Linked DNA regions of Homo sapiens: region 1 is linked to region 2. The links are contacts of gene promoters, found by promoter capture Hi-C in blood cells and fetal thymus (Javierre and others, 2016). All regions are on one chromosome and are shown on one strand. Each heading gives the region's core, a stretch centred on a gene start or on the middle of the fragment in contact. The rest is flanking DNA. Distances are from core to core; before and after follow the strand shown.

Region 1 (5,068 bases), core at 871-3,370, 510 kb before region 2:
GGCATTCCAGGCAGGTGGAATTGCAGATGCAAGAGGGAGCTCTGGCGAGGCTCCAGGATTCAGGAGAGCTGGGCAGATGGGTCCCTATCTCATGAGCTTCCTACAGTGATAGCTTTGGCCCTACTGCCTTTCCTTCCCCTGGCCTCTACTCCCGAGGTGGAATGGGAACACCTTGTCCCCACATGGTGCTTCTGGAGTTGAACTACAACAAAAGAAATAAAGTATTCTGTGAGTTCCAGGGTGTATTCATTTGCTAGAGTGGCCATAGGAAAGTACCACATACTGAGTAGGTTAAGCAGAAATGTATTTCCTCACAGTTCTGGAGGCTAGAGGTCTGAGATAAGGTATTAGTAGAGTTGGTTTCTTCTGAGGCCTCTCTCTTTGGCTTGTTAATGGCCATCTTATCCCTGGGCCTGGTGACCCTGCCTTTAAACTCAGTCACATTCTGAGGTACTGGAGGTTAGGACTTCAAACATGAAATGAGGAGTAATGGAGGGGGCACATTTAGCCCATAACACAGGGTCACAGTGACATGAAGGGCAATTGGTGTGAAAGGCATCAAAGACCAAGAGGACCTTCACAGGCCTTGAATGCTGAGGGCGGGGATGGGTTGGTGGAGGTGAGACAGCAGAAAGGGTGACTCCGGGGCAGGGAGTGCCCTCCTAACATGTATTTCCAGGCAGGGTTGGGAGTTAGAAGCCTAAGACTTGATGGTCCTGGGGAAGAGTCTGCCTCATCACGAGGGGGCAGCACACCCTTTTCTCAAGACAGCCTCCCCATCACACCCAGCAGAGTTGGATGGGCCCTTAAAAACACACACACCCTTCCCCATTTTACCAATGTAGAAACCCAGGCCTGGACTGGGGAGGGGACCACCCAAAGTCTCAACAAGTGAATATACATGAGTCTGGGCTGCACTTTGGGAGGCAGAGGCAGAGGCAAACAGATCACCTGAGGTCAGGAGTTCAAGATCAGCTTTGCCAACATGGTGAAACTCCATCTCTACTAAAAAATACAAACATTAGCCAGGCATGGTGGCGGGCACCTGTAATCCCAGCTACTTGGGAGGCTGAGGCAGGGGAATCGCTTGTACCCGGGAGGCAGAGGTTGCAGTGAGCTGAGATCATGCCACTGCACTCCAGACTGGGGACAGAGCGAGACTCTGTCTCAAAAAAAAAAAAAAAAAAAAAAAAAAAAGAGTCTGGGCTGGGCATGAGTCTCATCTCTCTCAGTTCTTTTATTCAACAAATATTTATTCAACACCCACAGTGTCCTAGACATTTGTTCTAGGTGCTGTTGATCAAAACAGGTAAAGAGCTCTGCCCACATGAGGTCCCATTTTAGGGAGGGACATAGACATTAACACAATAAAGAATAGACAGTATGTTAGATGGCAACAACTGTTGTGGTTGGAAGAAAATCAAACGGAGAGGAAGGTGGGAGTATAGGTAGGGGACAATGCAATTTTATATTGGGTGGTCAGGGGAGGCTTCACTGAGAAGATACTATTTGAGCGGAGATCTGAACGAAGTGAAGGAGCAAGACAGGGCATAACTAGGGGAAGTATGTTTCAGAAAGGGGGAACAGCAAATGCAAAGTTCTTGAACCAGGACTGTGTCTGGCATACCTGAAGAACAGCAGGGAGGCCAGAGTGTCTGCGGTCGAGTGAGTGTGTAGAATAGAGGAGATGGAGTCACAGAGGCAATGAGGAGGGGTGAGGTGAGGGGTTGCAGATGGAGTGGGGTGGTTGCAGATGGAGTTGGGTCTCGAAGACCATGATGAGGACGTGGGTTTTCTTTGGACAAGCTGGGGAACCATGGGGAGGGTTTGAATAGACCTAGGGATATGATCTGGCCTAAGTTTGTTTAAGGGTTACATAGACTGAGTAGGGGATTAGAGGAAGAGCCCTACCAAGGATTCCTAAGACAACACTCTGGGCTCTGTAGAGGGGAGAGTGGAGACAGGAGGACTGTGTCACTCAGATCTAGCTTTCAGGGTCGTCATAGTCAGATCTTGGTCTGGACACACGCAAGAGACATGAAGGAGACTTTTGAAAGGAACATACCCTTGTGGTTTGCGGTATTCAGGCCAGTCAAGGGGGCCAGATCACCCCCACAGAATGGGGTGGGGATAGTGTGAAACCAGAGGGGACAGAGAGCCTAATGGGGCTAGTGAGGAGGGAAGGTTTCCTGGAACCTGGAAGAGGAGATGTGATCCATAGGCTCAGTGCAATTCCTGCCAAACTCCCAAGTTTTTTTGTGAGAAAGTTGGCATACTGTTTTTCAAATTTATATGGAAAAGCAAAGACCGCAGAAGAGCCTAGACAATCTATCTCTCTTTTTTTTTTTATTTTTTTGAGAGACAAGGTCTTGGTCTGTTGCCCAGGCTGGAGTGCAGTGGCATGATCCTAGCTCACTGCAGCCTGAAACTCCTAGGCTGAAGTACTCCACTGGTCTCAGCCTCCTAAGTAGCTAGGACTACAGGTGTGTGCCACCATGCCTGGCTAATTTTTAAATTTTTTATGGAGAAGGGTCTTGCTATGTTGCCCAGGCTGTTCTCAAACTCTGGCCTTCAGTAATCCTCCTGCCTTAGCTTCCCAAAGTACTGGGATTATAGACATGAGCTACTGTGCCCAGCCACTAGACAGTCTTGAAGAGAAACAAAATGAGCAGACTTGTTTTACCAGATATCTAGGCCTGCTAGAAAGCTGAGTAATTGGGACAGTGTGGGTGTTTGTTCAGGAATGCAACATTAGACCCTCAGAACTGAACAGAAAACCCAGAAATAGACCCAAGGCATCCACATCTACTTAATGGACTCAGAGGTAGTATTGCAGGCCAGTGAGGAAGGATGGCTACTGAATAAATGATGCAGGCTAACTGGTCATCCATATGAAAAAAACAAAAAACAAAAAAACAAATTGGAGTCTGTTACAGGTTGAATTGTTCCCCTTAAAAGATATATTGAAGCCTTGGCATCCCCCACCAGTATCTGTGAATATGGCCTTATTTGGAAATAAGGTCTTTGTAGATATAATCAAATTAAGGTGAGGTCATACTGGATTAAGTAGGTTCTAATCAGGCCAAGCACAGTGGGGCTCACGCCTGTAATCCCAGCACTTTGGGAGGCCAAGGTGGGTGGATCACAAGGTCAGGAGTTCAAGACCAGCCTGGCCAAGATGGTGAAACCCCGTCTCTACTAAAAATACAAAAACTAGCCGGGCATGGTCGCAGGCGCCTGTAATCCCAGCTACTTGGGAGGCTGAGGCAGGAGAATCACTTGAACACGGGAGACAGAGGTTGCACTGAGCTGAGATTGTGCCACTGCACTCCAGCCTAGGCTACAAGAGAGACTCCGTCACAAAACAAACAAACAACCAAAAGCCAACTAATAGATGTATGAGGTATGAGGAAGGATAAAATTAGAAAATCACTATTTGGCAGCCATATTAATAATTCGACAAAAATCATCAATGGACATAAAAACCAGTAGACTTGAGAAATAAACTAATAGGGTAATTACACAGTCCATGGTATCTCCCCTAGATACTTAATAATCACAAAGGGAAAAACAGTAGCTTTATATGGAGAAACTTAGTAGACCTCATCTTACTCACGTGATGAAGTTTAATGTCACCAGCAATGAGAGAAATCTAGATCATGTGCCTTCTGGTATGATGCTCTGAGGACACAGTACCCAAAACGCATTACCTTAATCTAATCACGAAGAAACATTAGATAATCCCAAATTGAAGGACATCCTATAAAAGAACTGGTCTATCATCTCCAAAAAGTCAGTCTTATGAAACACAAAGAAATACTATTCTAGATTAAAGTATAAAGAAACATAGACATAACCTCTTTAGCATACTAAAGAAGTGTAACACATGATATGGGATGTTCTTTTTGTTCTGAGGAAGCGGTCCCCAAACTTTTTGGGACCAGGGACCGCTTTCATGGAAGACGATTTTTCCGTGGATGAGGGGCAGGGGATGGTTTCAGGATGAAGCTGTTCCACCTCAGATCATCTCTCATAAGGAGCACACAACCTAGATCCCTCACCTGTGCAGTTCACAGCAGGATTTGCACTCCTATGAGAATCTAATGCAGCTGATCTGACAGGAGGTGGAGCTCAGGTGGTAATGCTTGCCACCCACCACTCACCTCGGCTCCAAGGGACATTACTAGTATGAGTGATGAAATCTGAATAAAGTCTGTAGATTAGATAATGGTAGTGTTTCAGTGTTAATTTCCTGAATTTGACAGTTGTTCTGTGGTAATGTTTACATATAGGATAATGTTCTTGTTTTTAAGAAATATACACCAGGCCAGGTGCAGTGGCTCACATCTGTAATCCCAGCACTTTGGGAGGCCAAGGCAGGCAGATCACTTGAGGTCAGGAGTTCGAGACCAGCCTGGCCAACATGGTGAAACCCCATCTCTTCTAAAAATACAAAAATTAGTCAGGTGTGGTGGTGTGTGCCTGTAATCCCGGCTACTCAGGAGGCTGAGGCAGGATAATCACTTGAACCCAGGAGATTGCAGTGAGTAGACATTGCACCACTGCATTCTTGGGCAACAAGAGTGAAACTCCATCTAAAAACAAAAATGAAATATACACTGAAGTATTTAGGAGTAAAAAGGCAGTATTCTGCCCCTTACTCCCAAGTGACTTGGGGCTCAGGGAAGGGGAGGGGAGATATGTGTGTATATATGGGGGCACTGAAAGAAAGAGAGAGGGACACAAATGTCAAATGTTAACATTTGGGGAACTGGGGTAAAGGGTATGAAGAAATTCTTTGCACTATTCATGCAACTTTTCGATGTAAGTCTGAGATTATGTCAAAATAAAAAGTTAAAAAGAAAAACAGGACATCATAAAGAAAATGAACAGACAAGACCAAATTGGGAGAAGATATTTGTGAGACATAATCAAAAAAGGATTACCATTAAGGATATGTAAAAAAGTCTGATGAGTTCTCAAGAGAGACAAACAATCCAATGGACAAATGGGCACACAACTTGGATGGGAACTTACAGGAACAGCCAAAACCACATGGAAAGATGTC
Region 2 (5,625 bases), core at 2,958-5,457:
GCCATGGCTGCCTGCGGAGACTGCGGCCCAGGGGACAAGGGCACGTGGGGAGCCCGACCCTGTTTCCCTGCCTCTGGCTCTTAGGCCCAGGGGACAGCTGGCCCTTACCTCCTTCTGCCCACCCTCCACGTGGCAACCATAGTCTGAGCTCCCCAAATTGGCTCTGACAGGATGATGGACATTCTTCATGCCCTTCTGAACGCTACCAGGGAGGTCTGCCAAGCAGCTACCCCCGCTGTTGCCAAGAGTGTGACCCCCCGGTGCCCCTTCCCACTGGCCTTGTCCACACAGGGCCACGCTGATCTGGAAATCCGTCAGCCCTTGTCCTGGGTCCTGGGTCTGGGGTTTGGGTTTGCAGTCCTGGAAGTCTGGGTTTAGAGTCCTGGGGCTTGAGTCCTGGATCTGGGGTCTGGGTTTAGAATCCTGGTTCCTGTGTCTGGGGTCTGGGGTCCGGAGTCTGGGTTGAAGGTCCGGGTTTACCATCCTGGGTCTTGGAGTCTTTGGTCAGGGTTTGGGTGCCAGGATCTGGGTCTAGGTCTCCACAGTGGGGTCTAGTCCTGGAATCTGGGTTCTGGGTTCTGAGTTTGGCACTCAAATTGTGAGACCTGAGTCTGGGGTCTGAGCTTGGGGTTCCGGTTTCCTGATCTGGGGTCTGGGTTGGGATTCTGGGTTCTGGGGTTTGAGTTCAGGAACCAAAGGTCGGTTCCCATCCCTTCTGCGCCCCCTGCTGGCTGATCGTGGTCCAGTCACTGCCTGTACCACAGGGGTCACCCTCACCTCTTTAGTCTGTGAAGAGCACGCCTGAATTGGGGTGGGCATGGGGAAGTGGTGGGTGGGCTTGGAGGCAGCTGCTGGCCGCACTACTGTCCCAGAGTGCCCTCTGCACCGCCAGAGCTCCTGTCAGTCAGTTGGCAAATCTCCCCATCTCTCCGGGCCCACTCCAGGACAGGGTTTAGCAAGGGGTTCCAGTACCTCTGTGAGAGGTGGGTAAACTGAGATATTTGGAACATTTGTTCATCCAGCATTTATTGAATGCCTGTGGTGTACCAGGTCCTGGGAAAATGTAGCTGTGGAAGAGCAGAACATTCCTCCCTCCTGTGATGGCTGACATTCATAGGAAGGCGGACACACGGAAGACGCCAGGTAACAAGAGCCCAGAAGAAGGCCGGCGTGGCCGGGCTTTCCTGCCTTAGTCCACAGGCTCCTCAGAAGTCAGGGCCCATATCTTCCCCGCATTCTCCTTGGCTGGGGGAAGGGAGAGGTAAGTGGCTGCCTGAGAGGGCTCTGGGACATGGCGTGTGCCAGCCTGCAGCACACTGGGCTGCAGCTCAGACATCAGAGCTTTGGGAGCTGAAGCAGTAGGACCCAGACCCCCAGCCCTGGCTCTCCAGGCCCCCGAGGCCCTGCCCAGATCCTGCCTGCTAGGCTGACTCCTGAAGGGCACAAAGCTCAGGTTGGGATGTGGGAGAGAGAGGGAAGTGCCAGGCATGGTGTGGCCTGTTCTTACCGCCAACTGCTGCCCACCCTCCCTCCCTCCACCCCCAACTCCCTGCCCACCTTCCTGCCTCCTGTTCACCCCATGCCTTGCTCCTGGTCTCGGTGTGCCTGGGAGGGCTCTGGCTGGTCCTGAAGAGTGCCTACTGGGGGCTAGGCAGTTGTTATAGGTTTGAGGGTGGGCCTGTGGGTGAGTCCTGGGGCACTGTTGTTCCCAAGCCAGCAGGGACATGCCCAGAATCAGAGCTCAGGCAGTCACCATCCTGGCCCTAGCCTTCATCTGGGTCCTGATGAGGGAGTGAGGATGGCTCTGTGCACCCTGTCCCTGCTGCAGGACCACGTTTGCCCTGTGTGTGACAGGAGGGGCCCAAGCCACTGCCTTGACTCTGCCACACACAGGTGGAGGAAGGTGGCACTATGTGGCTCTGGCTGGCTGCATGAGCCTGCCCATCCCAGATCACAGACCTGGACACTGAGGCCCAGGATGCTCTTGTCACTGGCTTACCCCCATTTGGGCCAACGTTGGGTGGTTTCCAAGGGGTGGTAATTGTGTGAGGATGAAAGAAATGAGATGGGAGAGAGGGCCCTGTATATGTCCTCTGCTCTGGCCCTCTGCTTCCCTCATGATGAACACAAGGAAATTGGTCTTGTTGGCGGTGTCTGTGGGTGGCTGGGGCTCCCGTGTGACTTCCAGAGCCCGTTGTCCTGAGGGTCGGCAGGCCTGGGTGGTGGGGCCTCCCCGGGGCCCCTCTGTGTGGCCCTCTGGCTGTCTTCTCCTCTTGTGGTATTTCTGGCTCGTCTCCACTGACCATCCCCCCACCCCTTTCTTTCTCAATACTGTTGCCAAACATTTGGAAGAAAAGTGAAAAACTTGCCCCCCCGCCAGTCCCGGATGTTGTCAGATTTCCAGATGTGGGTGTTCTGCCCTCCAGATGAGAGGCAGAACGTGTTCCAGTCAGGAGCGGGCTGGCCCCAGCCCTGGACTGCTGTCCCTCCCTGTGAGGCGGAGTGACAGGATGAGAGGGACTGGGCCCAGTAGGAAGACAGCAGGGCGTGCCAGGTAGAGGCCCTGGGCCCCACAGCACCTCTCAGCCTCAGGCTTAGCCCCTTGCCACACCAGGGAAATCCCTGGCTTTGAAGTTTCTATCAAAGGCTCCAGGCACTTAAAAGTAACCAGGAGCACCTCCTTCCCACCCCCCAGGCACAGATGCTGGGCAAGGAACAGAGCCCAATGTGTTTACAAGATGTCCCCACTGTTGGCGTCCCCATGCGGGAAGAGCCTTGTGCCACCTCAGCCCTCCCACCTCCCCAAGTGGCAGTCCCGTCAGGCTGTACTCTGTCACTGTCATCTGCTGAAGGCTGGGCTTGGGATGGACCCTGGGGGCCGGGCACTGCAGGATGGGCACTGGGGGTGGGCACTGAGTGGTAGGAACAGGGAATGAGCATCACTGCACTGGGGCAGACCCTGCTTGGCAGCTTGGGGTTCCTCAGAGAGGCAGACCCTCTCAGAGCCCCTGCCAAAAGGGTCGGCAGAGGGCAACATGTGGCAGTGGAATAGCATTGGAGAGAGCTTTCTGGAAGAGGGCCAGTAGAGCCAAGCCTTGAATATGTCAGGCAGAGGGGGCGAGGGCACTCTGGGCAGAGGGTGCAGTGGGGAGCCAGGCCTGGGGTGTGTAGGGAAATGTGCATCCCTGGGGCCTGTAGAGAGGGGAAGTAGGAATCTAGGGGTGAAAGCTGAGAAACTGGTCCCTGGGCCAGCAGGGGCTGAAGAGGGAGGCTGCTGAACTGGCCTGGGGCGACTGCCCTAGAGGGAGCAGCATCCTTTCTCTTGCCCTTTGTGGGGGTTCCTGGAGACCCTTGGACCCATAGCCAGGGCTACAGCTGCCTGCCATGACCAGACACTCACATACAGACACATGTAAACACCCAGACATAAACACACAGAAGCAACACCCGCAGACACACTCACATAGACACATAGACACACCACGCACACATAAAGACCCAGACCCACAGAGACAAATGCAGACACCCGGGCCATCCCTTACATAGACACAGATACGGAGCACACATAGGCACGCACAGAGCCCCCCACCACGGAGGCACCCAGACAATACACACAGGTGTACACAGACCCCCCTCCACACAAACACAGACACAGAGAGACCCACAGACACATAGACACCCCGACACAGACACAGACAACACACACAGACACATGCTGACTTCCGCCTTCCCCCACATGGACACGGTCATAGACACAGACACAGACACAGGGGACTTTGGAGAGCTTAAGTTCAGAGGTGCCCTTAGATCATCCCAGTCCTTCTGGCCCCAACACAACACGTAGCATGTACTTGGTCCACCCTTCTTCACCTCTTCAACTTACGGACCTGCAGAGAGGCAGCAGGGCCCTGTGTGGGTATGTGCGGGTGTGCAGATGAGTGTGTGTGTATGTGTGTATGTGTGTGTTAAGCAGTGGCCTTTGTCCCCCTCTCTCCCTCCCCCTTCCCAACAGGTGATTGGGAGGAATGGAGATCCCTCCTCCACTACCCATTCCTGAGCCTGAACAATGCCCTCCCCAGGCCCCAAAATAGCCCCTAAGCCTAGCCATATCCTTTTATGGCCCTGTCCCTATTGTGCACTGCAGGGGTGGGGCTGGGGTCATGAGGTATCCGGGCAGGATAAAGGCCTGGGTGAGGCGGCTCACCTACCCTGCTTTCTGCATTCTTCTCTCCACATCCCTCTCTGTACTTACAGCCCCCAATGGCCCCCAAAAAGCCAGAGCCCAAGAAGGATGATGCCAAGGCAGCCCCCAAGGCAGCTCCAGCTCCCGCACCTCCCCCTGAGCCTGAGCGCCCTAAGGAGGTCGAGTTTGATGCTTCCAAGATCAAGGTGGGTATGGAAGCTGGGTGGTGGCAATAGGAGCAGGGCAAGTGAGTGGATCCCAGAGTGGACCTAGCAAGAGGCAGGTCAGGCTCTGGAGGTGAGCACTGAGCTGACGCTGGAAGCTTCTGTGCAGAGGTCAGACAAGCCCTGACTGCTTCAGGCATCAGAAGGGCTGCAGCAGGAGGGATGGTGGTCAGACGTTCTGCAGGACTCCTCTGGTGCTGCTGAGAACTAAGGTGGAGTCTAGACTGGGGTTTGAGTCTGGACTGTCTTTTTAGTGGTTTTGGAAATGGACTCTCCCTTGCCCTTCTTCCTGGACTTCTCATCCTTGGGGAATCCTGGAGTCAGCTGGAGCCAGGCAGGGATTTTCCTTGTTCAGCTGAGGGGTCCCAAGTCCATACACGCTCCCAGCGTGGATGAGATAGGGAGTAAGAAGAAGCAGGGCCCCTGTCCAGGCTGGGTCTCGTTCAAATCACCGAGCCCAGAGCTGGTAGAGCACTTCCAGGCCTCAGCTTTTAGGTAGGGAACTTGAAGCATCAGCTGGCTGGGGACATTCTGAAAGCTGTGCAGGAAGCTGGTCATGGAGCTATGACCAGTGGCCCCAGGAGCCCTTCCCCAACTGCAAAGTCTTTCTCAGAGTCTAAACTTGGAGGGAGCCATGACTCCCACCTGTGGTATCTGCATAGCAGCACGTACCCTGTGTCCTGCCTGCTCCCTGTTCTTGGCTGGGACCACTGCTGCCCTGGCTGCCTCCTCAGGAGCCCTGTGGAACCCTCGCCATCCCTGCATGCCCAGCAGGACCTACATTCCATCGGTGAAGTCTTGCCTCCTGTTCATGAGCCCTTCCCAGAGACACCTACCATGTCCTTTGAGGCAAGGGTTCAAATCCCAACTCTGCTCCATTTTAGTTGCCAAGTTCTTCGCTGCTCTGAGGCGTGGTTTCCTCAGCTGTGAAACAGAACAGCAAGTCCCCTCTTGCAGGGCTGCTGGGAACCATTCAGAGTATATGCACCTGGAGTTGGCCACCCAGGTCCCAGGCTTGCATTCTGCAGGCCTCATGGTGAGGCTGTGACCACAGCCACGGCCCATAGTGGCATTGTCCTTTCTCGCCAGGCCTTAGGTTGGCACAGACTTCCTTCTGAGAGGTGGGGACAATGAGACCCCTCATGCGCCCTCTTCCCCCATCCCCAGGTTGCAGGTAAAGGGCAGGGAGCCTTTGCCAGGAGCCCAGAGACCCTAATC

The links. The method cuts DNA at HindIII sites, captures the fragments that hold promoters and counts their contacts. A CHiCAGO score of 5 or more calls a contact.
Region 1: a contact is called between a fragment that was not itself captured here and the fragment with the promoter of MYL3 in region 2, in 1 of 17 cell types (total B cells). The highest score is 5.2, in total B cells.

What each region holds. Positions count from the first base shown.
Region 1 is chr3:47,372,266-47,377,333 of GRCh38, reverse strand. No RefSeq gene overlaps it. Among named protein-coding and RNA genes, the nearest start is that of PTPN23, 6.2 kb to the left of the region's middle. The HindIII fragment of the contact is 9,184 bases long and covers 1-5,068 here.
Region 2 is chr3:46,862,026-46,867,650 of GRCh38, reverse strand. MYL3 (myosin light chain 3) reads left to right here and starts at 4,207. Exons shown (of 7, transcript NM_000258.3): 1 at 4,207-4,389. The coding sequence starts at 4,261. The HindIII fragment of the contact is 15,359 bases long and covers 1-4,507 here.